Regions from separate parts of the Homo sapiens genome. Here region 2 is linked to region 1. The links are contacts of gene promoters, found by promoter capture Hi-C in blood cells and fetal thymus (Javierre and others, 2016). All regions are on one chromosome and are shown on one strand. Each heading gives the region's core, a stretch centred on a gene start or on the middle of the fragment in contact. The rest is flanking DNA. Distances are from core to core; before and after follow the strand shown. Region 1 holds the start of DDX60 (DExD/H-box helicase 60). Region 2 overlaps TMEM192 (transmembrane protein 192).

What was found. Contacts are between HindIII fragments. The CHiCAGO score rates a contact against its expected background, and 5 or more counts as called.
Region 2: a contact is called between a fragment that was not itself captured here and the fragment with the promoter of DDX60 in region 1, in 1 of 17 cell types (naive CD8 T cells). The highest score is 6.6, in naive CD8 T cells.

Annotation. Positions count from the first base shown.
Region 1 is chr4:168,316,477-168,321,606 of GRCh38, forward strand. It overlaps DDX60 (DExD/H-box helicase 60), which reads right to left and starts at 2,276. Exons shown (of 38, transcript NM_017631.6): 1 at 2,146-2,276. RefSeq lists an enhancer at 2,210-2,539. The HindIII fragment of the contact is 2,588 bases long and covers 1,765-4,352 here.
Region 2 is chr4:165,100,761-165,105,890 of GRCh38, forward strand. It overlaps TMEM192 (transmembrane protein 192), which reads right to left. Exons shown (of 6, transcript NM_001100389.2): 2 at 2,190-2,336; 3 at 1-132. Among named protein-coding and RNA genes, the nearest start is that of TMEM192, 9.5 kb to the right of the region's middle. The HindIII fragment of the contact is 5,860 bases long and covers 1-5,130 here.

The DNA of each region.
Region 1 (5,130 bases), core at 1,026-3,525:
TCATCTTTCACAGCAGGATGTCCAGCAATAGCATCTGAAGACAATATATGAAAAAAAATAATGGTTTATGGAATCAAGAAATTATCCTGCTTTTCTTCTAAGTACTGCACCATCGCATTACCAAAGAGTAGATACAAGAGTGATTCATTTCTAGAAATAATGCAGCTAATAAACACAGAAGGAATGATAGAATTAGAATATCACCATTTTACAACTCCTAATGAATTAACAGATCTTGGTATTTTTAAACGATAGCACAACAAAAATAGAGGCAAGTGTCCACACCATCAGTGAAGTATTGTAGTTCTCCCAGCCAAAAAAAAAAGAAACCCAAAACTTGGGAGGCCAAGGCGGGCAGATCACCTGAGGTCGGGAGTTCGAGACCAGACTGGCCAACATGGTGAAACCCCATCTCTACTAAAAATGCAAACATTAGCTGGGCATGGTGACAGTCACCTGTAATCCCAGCTACTTGGGAGGCTGAGGTAGAAGAATCGCTTGAACCTGGGAGGCAGAGGTTGCAGTGAACTGAGATCAAGCCACTGCATTCCAGCCTGGGCAAAAGAGCAAGACTCCGTCTCAAAAAAAAAAAAAAAAAAAGAAGAAGAAGAAAAAAAAGAAAACCTGAATCTGATCAAAACGCTAGTAGTAATGATTAATTTACAAGAAATTTAGAGGCCAGCAAAATATGTTAAATGACACCACAGGGATTAGGACACATACACACACACACACATAAACACACACCCAACAGGACACACACATACAAAAACAAACAATCATAAGACCACAAATCTTACAAACGAATAAATTAAAAGGGGATGAAAGAAATTGCAAGAACCTTATAAGGCTTATCCTCCAATCACAGTAGTGTCAGAACCATATTCTGATTCAAACAATCTTAAAAAGGAAGAAGAAAAGAAGAAGGGAGGAAGAGAAATGGAAAAGAGAAAAAAGGAGGGAAGAGGAAAGGCGCAAAGGGGAGGTAAAGAGGAAAAAAATGGGGGCAAGGGAAGGGAAAGGAAATCATGGATTCTGTATTGGAACAGAATGGTGGAGCTACTTGATGAAAGGCATCAAGCTCCTGAAACCCTGCCTGGAGAAGAGCTGGTGGGTTAAAATGGCTTCCAGTACCCGGTATAACCCTCTCCCCTTGAGTGTGGACAGGACCTGTGAATTTAATGGCATAGTCTCTTTAATGATTCGGTTATATTATGTAAGACTTCATCATAGTAGACTCGGGAGATTCCCCCAAAGAGGCTTATACCTTCTTTAAAGGTACCCTATACCTTCTTTAACGGTATAAGCCACCTTGTTGTGAGAAGGCCACTGTAGCTAAGATCTCAGGGTGAAATCTAAAGACATGGGAACCCCCAGCCAACAGCCAGCAAGAAAGCAGGTAACCTCAGTCCTTTAGCTGCAAGAAACTGAATTCTTCCAACAACCTGAATGAGCATCCATGGTGTCCCATGAGGCCACAGCTCTGACACCTTGATTTCAGCTCGATGAGATGCTGAACAGAGAACTCACTTTACCCATGCCTGGGCTTCTGATCCACAGCAATTGTAAAATAATAAACTTGTAATGTTTTAAGCCACTATACCTGCCCCTTGACCAGGAATAAATTAAGTTACTGGAGTAGGAAATAAATTTCTATTGTCTTAAGCCACTGAAATTTAAGGGTGCACAGAAATTACCTGGGGGAATCTTATTAATAAACGCAGATTCTGATTCTACAAGTCTGGAGCAGGGATTGAAGGTGGAAGCTTCTTGCTGCTGTCAATGTACAGGTTTTACTGGCTGTGCTTAGATATGATGTCCCTTAATTTCTCCTCAACCTCCATTACCCAGCTCCCACCTTTGACGGGGACTCCTTAAATGCCTAACTAAGCACTCCTCTCTGTCTCAGACTTCAGGCCTTTCGCGGTTGTCCCTTTCCTCCGCCCCTCCCCACGCCCGGCCTTCCGGGCCAGCAGGGGGCCCGTGCGCCACGGCCTTGCGATCCCAGGAGGTTCCCCAGATTCCCGCGCCCCGAGCCCAGCACTCCTGGGCCACCTCCCTGTCCGGTCCGTTGAAGAAGACCTAGAACTCCCGCTAGACAGCTCCGCCCCAGGCTCTTCCCAAGGGACATCCCCGGCTCCTCACCGCGGACTCAGGACCGGTGGTGTCCAAAGACCCGCGAGCTGCGCGCCCCGCGGGGAGGGAGTGAAACAGAGACCTAGCGCAGAGCCCAGGTGGAAGTTCCAGGTTACCCCAGACCTGGCCTAGGACTCGGCGCTCTGAGCCACCGCAGCCAGTCTTTTATGCATCCGGCGGGAGTTTCGGTTTCCTTTCTCCTCTCAGAAGCACTTAGGTTTCAGTTTCCCTTCAGCACGAATTAGGCGAGGCACTTTCGTGGAAAGTTTAGCATCCTTCCCTTCAATCAGAATCTTAAGAAGGGGAGCATGGCGAGACGTTAGTTAAAAGGTATGAAGTTACAATAGCTAGGAAGAACCAGTTCTGGTATTCTATTCTGCAGTAGGGTGTGTATAGTTAACAATAATGCATATTTCAAAATAGCTAGAAGAGAGAATTTTGAATATTCTCATCACAAAGAAATAGTAAAGTTTTGAGGTAATAGATGGGCTAATTATCCTGATTTGATCATCACACAATGTATACATGTATTGAAACGTCACATTGTACCCCAAAAATATATACAATTATTATGCGTCAATTAAAAATAAAATGAAACTAAAAAAAACCTTAAAAGAGAGAGACAAAGGCAATAAAAATGGGCTTTGGAATTTGGGCATAAATATAGAGTAAATTGAGGCAGAAAAATTTGTAACATCTAAACAAGATAAAATCAAGAAGAGTTAGAATTTAGAAATTGATAAAATGTAAAAGACACTGTGGAATCTGAAACCCCACAATGAAATTGGAGATCTTGCTGCTTCTACTTGTATGCAAAAAGAAAAAAGAAAGTATGTAACAATACATGAACTTTGAGTTTCTGTTATGAGAAGCTGATGATTACTGTTCTGTATAAACTGTAATTGGTACTTTCATGGGCCAAGAATCAACATTAAAAAATAAATTGAAAATGCAGAATGGTCACATTTATTTGTGCCTCAAATTGATGAAATGTTCTCTTAATTTTTGCCTGTTGATACTTGCAGTGTGGGTTTCGATACTCATCTCCTTTCCTTTCAGTGCCCTCGTATGCTTGATTTCATTAATGCTATAAATATGCATTCATATATTGGAAATAGAAGAGGGTGTGGAGGAAAGACAGCAGTGAATTTGGGTAATCAGCATGATAAGAAGCCACAGGCTGCTTTGTCTACAAGGAAAGGAAAGAGCCAAGGTCCAGGCACTGCTCCACAGGGAACACAGAACAGAGAGAGTAGTGAATGATACTTTGTCTTGTGAAAAATTAGAGAGTCAAGTTGTTAAAAGAGGGGGATATGGGGAAGGAGGACATTTCTCACATCCATCAGACAATTACTTGTTTATTCATTTGTTTAGAAATTCACGTGTTTGTTAGTGATGAGATTAAGAAAGAAAATAAAAGACTCTAGAATTTAACACATGATTGGTCTTAAATCAGCCAATATTCCTGTCTCCTTCACTGTGATCTCTGATGTACCTGCCTGGGGTAGGCTGAATAATACCCTGCACTCCTCCCTCCAAAAGAGGCCAAAATCCTAATTCCTGGAACCTATGAATACAGTAACTTTCATAGCAAAAGTAACTTTGCAAAATAGATTAAATAAGAATCTTTAGAAGAGGAGATTACCCCTTACCCGGGATTATCCAGGTGGGCCCAAGGTCATCAGAAGGGCCTTTATAAGAGGGAGACAGGAGTTCGAGGGGCAATGTGATGATAGAAACAGTCAGTGACAGAATGTGGGGACACTACACAGATGGCGTTGAAGACAGTGGAAGGGACCACGGGCCAAGGAGTCTGGTGGTCTCTAGAAACTACCAAAGGCAAGGAAACATTTTTTTTTTCTAGAGCCTCCAGAAATCAGCCCTGATAACACCTTGACTTCAGCCCAGAGAGACTGATTTTGAACCTCTGAGCTCAGAACTGTAAGAGAACAAACTTGTGTGGTATTAAGCCACTAAATTTGTGGTAATTTGTTACAGCAGCCATAGAGAACTAATACAATATTGCAAACTGTATTGTAGGAAATGAATAACATATTTGCAAACAGCAGAAATAATGGATTGTGTTATAACAAGAGGTAGAATTAATTCAGACAGCTACTATGTGCTAAGCAATATGCTAATACCATATCAATGATCACAGCAAGTTCATGAGGTGTGTACTATGATTTCTGTCATTCTGTAGATAAGAAAAATAAAGCTTCGAGGGATAAAACAGCTAATAAATTATACTAAGATTCAAAATGTGGTCTAACCCAATGGCCTATCTACAACATTCTCTATTACATAATTTCATCAAATGCTTCAAATTCTACAACTGAAAGTGTTTCAGCTAGTGGACAAATGATTTTTTTTTGCTTAAATTATAAAGTTTTTTAGAATATATGATGTTCTACAGTTGTTTCGACTTTCAGTGACCGGATTTATCAGGTGAGAGTTCAAGACAACTTTGACTCATCCTCTTCAATTTTCCACCCCAAAGTATGTAAACACACAGAAACTTTTTATTTTTTTTTTACTTTTTCACTTCAACAGCCTACTCCCATGACCACACCCTGGACTTTGTTCTGAAGCTTGATAGTCACGTACTTTATTTTTCCTTTTAGACCCCTCCCTTTATGCCCTACACTTTAACCTCTGAGGACTCCCAAATGTTTGTCCTATCAGGGTGAACTCCATGAGCCAACACTTCAACTCTCCTCTTAATTAACATGTTCAACTGCTTGAACCTACTGACTTTCCTCTACACTTGCCTATAATTTGTTAATCCTGATTAATTCAAGTTTTCTTTTCTTTTTGATACCTGGCCACCAAGGGGAATGACCCAGTTAGGATCTCATCAAATGTATTATTTAACAACACAGCTGATACCTTTTTTTCTGTTCCCCTCAGCCTTCTGCATATTTCACAATGACAGTTACAATTCAGCACTTTACCATTCTCAAGTCTTTTAAATGATAGACCATCTCTTCTGTT
Region 2 (5,130 bases), core at 1,384-3,883, 3.2 Mb before region 1:
AATAACTTTCCCAAGGATTATAACCGTCTGAACTTTCAATGGGTTTGTGTAATTTCCTGGGCACTTGTCCTCATTTGGATTAGGATAAGAACAAAGCACACCTGTTAAAAATGCTAAAACAACAAACACGAGCTGGGGGAAAGGAGAGCAGAAAGATTAATATTCAATATTTGTAATTAGGAAGCAATAACTACCATCCCAGCATACATTCTTTTTTTTTTTTTTTTTTTTTCTGAGACAGAGTCTCACTCTGTCGCCCAGGCTGGAGTGCAGTGGCGCAATCTCGGCTTACTGCAAGCTCCACCTCCCGGGTTCACGCCATTCTCCTGCCTCAGCCTCCCGAGTAGCTGGGACTACAGGCACCCGCCACCACGCCTGGCTAACTTTTTGCATTTTTAGTAGAGACGGGGTTTCACCATGTTAGCCAGGATGATATCGATCTCCTGACCTCATGATCCACCCACCTCAGCCTCCCAAAGTGCTGGAATTACAGGTGTGAGCCACCGCACCCGGCTTCCCAGCATACATTCTTATACCTACAGCTTCCCCTGTCCTATTTTTATAAATGAGTTTTTAAATGTATTTTCGTTTTGTTTTGTTTAAATGTATTTTTGTTTTCTGTGTGAGATACGGTCTTGCCCTGTTGCCCAGGCTGGAGTGCAGTGGTGCCATCTCTGCTCACTGCAGCCTCAACCTCCTGGGCTCAAGCGATCCTCCTACCTCAGTCTCTGGAGTAGCTGGAACTACAGGCCTGTGCCACCATGCCTGGCCAATTTTAAGAAGTTTTTATAGAGACAGGTTCTTGCTATGGCACCCAGGCTGGTACAGAGTATGTTACACAAAAAGTAAAAGGAAAGAAGAAAAAGAGGTCACCATCTGGAAACCACAAGGCCACCCCTGCACATGGTGGTACCAAGAAGAAAGCGCTTCAGCTGGGATCTGGGGATCAGGAAGCCATGGTGGAGCCATACCACAGCTACTAGTTCCCTCAAGGAAAGGGGATACCACCTCTCTCCCCAGTGATTCAGTTCTGAACTCAAGTCTCCCACAGTGCACTTCACTGGAGAGGAATCCCAGCTGCAGGGGAAGCCAGGAAATGTGCTGAGGGATACGGTCCCTGCAGACAGGCAAACCTATCAGTAGGAGGCTGAGCAGAGGCTGAGCAAGTCAATCAACTCCATTCACAGTCCTCGTAAATACTCAAGGAGTGGTGAGAATGAGCCCTCTTGATTTTTCACATTGCAGCAGAGAACAACTATAACCCCTAGTGCTTCCAACTGCAATCGTCGAAAGGGAGGAACTGATTAAACAGACTGGCAGTGGAGTCACCACCAGTGAGGCCTGCGATAAGACCTTTTGCACATGTGTTTTTATAAACTCCAGATAGTTGTAATTTTGTCATCATACAAAAATTGTACATATTATTCCACTGCAACTTGATTTGTCTGCTAAACATTATTCCCTAGGTATAAGTAAATTGATAAATTCCTGTGTCAACATATGTAGACTTTTCTGCATCTTTTTTGTAACTGAAAAAGTAATACAAGCACATGGTTAAAAAATCAAGTAGTATTCAAAAGTAAACAGTAAATTATATTAGTGTCTCTTCCACCAAGACCCTCAGTCCTCATTTCAGAGGCAACTAGGTCTGTGAATGCTTCTAGAAATATTCTATTATATACAGGAAAACAGGTCCACAACAGCCCTCTCAACTCCCTTTTAAAAACTGCAGATAGGAACATTCTGTACACAAGGTTGAAAACTTGATTTTTTTTCACTCGACAATGTAATCATGAAGGCTATTCTATGTTAATATACTGTATACCTATCCACCCCATTCTTAACAGTTGCATAGCATTTCCTTATATGAATGGGACACACAGTGTCTTCTGGATGCCAAGTAGCCAGGTAGTTTGTAGTCTCTTGATATGACAGACAACATGGCTATTATCAACAATATCTTTACATGTGTGCAAATATATCCACAATGAATTATTTGAAGATATAAGTAAAAGTGTACGTACTTTTTTTTTTTTTTTTTTGCCCATGACACAGCACTCAGGATGTCCTAAGAACATGTGCCCTACATTTTAAATGTTGATAGATACAGCACAACTGCCCTCTGAAACACTTATATAATTTTTACAAACATCACCTCTGGATAGGTCCCCTTCTTGCAGCCAACTTACATGAATAAACCACAGAAGATTCACTATGATGACTGTAGGAAGAGGATGGAATCGGGGTCTAAAGTGAGCTTGTAATGAGTGGTGTGGGAGAAGCTGGGCATCCAGAAGTGGGTCGTCTTCAATACTCTGGGTGATATCCAAGGAACCCTGGGGTGCAGAAAAACAAGCAACCTATAATCACCACTTTCTAGATTATGTTTCTAAGACAAATCTACTAAACTACAGAGCTTTTTAACCACATACAAATTAAAGGCAAGAGAACACATTGCCTACCTGAATCCAATTTTTTAAAAATTAATTATTAATTTAATTTAATTAATTAAAAAATTAATTAATTTTTTAAAAACTGTAGCAACACGGTCTCACTATGTTGCCCAGGCTGGTCTTGTTTGTTTGTGTTTTGTTTTTTGTTTTTGAGACAGTCTCGCTCTGTTGCCCAGGCTGGAGTGCAGCGGCGCAATCTTGGCTCACTGCAACCTCTGCCTCCCAGGTTCGAGCAATTCTCCTGCCTCAGCCTCCTGAGTAGCTGGGACTACAGGTGTGCACCACCACACCCAGCTAATTTTTTTTTTTTTTTTTTTTGAGATAGAGTTTCACTCTTGTTGCCCAGGCTGGAGTGCACTGGCACAACCTTGGCTCGCCGAAACCTCCACCTCCCGGGTTCCAGCAATTCTCCTGCCTCAGCCTCCTGGGGTAGCTGGGATTACAGGCATGCACCACCACACCCGGCTAATTTTTTATTTTTAATTTTTAGTAGAGATGGGGTTTCTCTATGTTGGTCAGGCTGGTCGCGAACTCCTGACCTCAGGTGATCCGCCTGCCTCGGCCTCCCAAAGTGCTGGGATTACAGGCATGAGCCACCGTGCCCGGCACACATCCAGCTAATTTTTGTATTTTCAGTAGAGGGAGGGTTTCACTGTGTTGGCCATGCTGGTCTCAAACTCCTGACCTCAGGTGATCTACCCACCTCGGCCTCCCAAAGTGGTGGGATTACAGGCATTAGCCACAGTGCCCGGCCCCAGGCTAGTCTTGAACTCTTGGCCGCAAGCTGCAATTCCAGCTACTCGGGAGGCTGAGGCAGGAGAATCACTTGGACCCAGGAGGTGGAGGTTGCAGTGAGCCGAGATTGCGCCACTGCACTCCAGCCTGGGCGACAGAGAGACTTCGTCTCAAAAATATGGATATATACTGCATTGTATATACTTTTAATTTGCTAAGAGTGTAGATCTTAAGTGTTCTCATCACATGTTAAAAAAAAGAAAAAAAGAATATGGTTCATGGGAAGCACATAACAAATCAGCAAATGAAAAGCATAGAAGACAATGCCAAAAAATTTAGGTCAGCTAACTGCACTACAATGAGACAGAAATGAAGGATTCATGAATAGGTTTTGGCTACACAGAATGAGAGCTCTTTATTTTGGAAGTAGGTAGTAGGACAAATGATGTAAGAGATGGCTGTTGATTGCTAAGATTACAAAGATAAGGACAGTAATCTAGGGTGTAACCTAGCTCTGGAGTGGGCTCCTCAATTTCCAGTAGCAGGTATTCAACACTGCTCTGCAACTGTTTTTGTTGTTTTGTTTGTTTGTTTGTTTTTGAGATGGAATCTCGCTCTGTCGCCGAGGCTGGAGTGCAGTGGCTCAATCTCGGCTCATTGCAACTTCTGCCCCCTGGGTTCAATCGATTCTCCTGTCTCAGCCTCCTGAGTAGCTAGGATTAAAGGCACGCGCCACTATGCCCGGCTAATTTTTGTATTTTTAGTAGAGATGGGGTTTCGCCATGTTAGCCAAACTGGTCTCAAACTCCCAACCCCAGGTGATCCGCCTGCCTCAGCCTCCCAAAGTGCTGGGATTACAGGCATGAGCCACCGCGCCTGGCCAAGTCTTTTATTCAATGCCTAGATTGCTTCCTGTTTAGTTTACCATAACTCATGGTACAATTCAGATTACTCCTGTTCTCTTCAAGACCCCTCTGCCTCTAGCTCATTCTCAGTCAGCAGATGTTGGAGCCTTGAGATCTGCTCTTCCCTTAGCTAATGTCTGTGCATTCTTTCATGCTCAGAAGGGGCAATTCCCACCACAGGGCCTTTCTGGATACCCCTAATCTGGATTGTGCCACCCTCCATGTTTTTCAAAGCATTCTGTGCTTGCCTCTTCTATCAAACTATCCTGTGATGGTCTCTTACTTATCTCTTCTCCACTAGACGTCATTGGACCCATTACCTTTACACCTCTTGTCTTTGTAATCCCAGCACTCAACACTATCTCATGGTTGTCACTCAGCAAACATTTGCTAGATGAATGAATGAGTGCCCCAAACCTGTTTCTGCAGTATTTTCTAATTCAATTATGGGCATCATCAAAGACCTGGGCTAATTAGAAGAGATTATCAGGACATACGGGGGATCAACTGTGACCAAAGGCAGTAAGAGCTGTGGTTAAGGTCAGGCTCCTAAGGGCAAACTGCCTGGATTCAAGCACAAGTTTTACCGCTTTCTAGCTGAGAGCAAGTTACTTCATCTCTCATGCCTCAGTTTCCACATCTAAAAAGGAGACTAATAATAGCACCTGCTTCGTAGCTCTGTCAGGAATACTAAATGAGTCACTACACATGCAAGTCCTCATGACACTGCCTGACGCACAGAGAGCACTCAATAAGTATTAGCCACTATTATTTCTTTATTAACTCTTTTCTCTTTTTAATATTTTTTAAATTTTAAAATAAAAATCAACAGGGTCTCGCTATGTTGGCCAGGTTGGTCTTGAACTCTTAGCCTCAAGCAATCCTCCCAAGTGCACTCCCAGTGTGCTAGGATTACAGGTGTGAGCCACCACACTTGGCCTTTTTATTAACTCTTACTTTTGACTTGCACCCCGCTATGGTCTAAATGTTGGTGTCCCCCAATAGTTCCCTGCTTTCCTTTGGGAAGTAATTAAGCC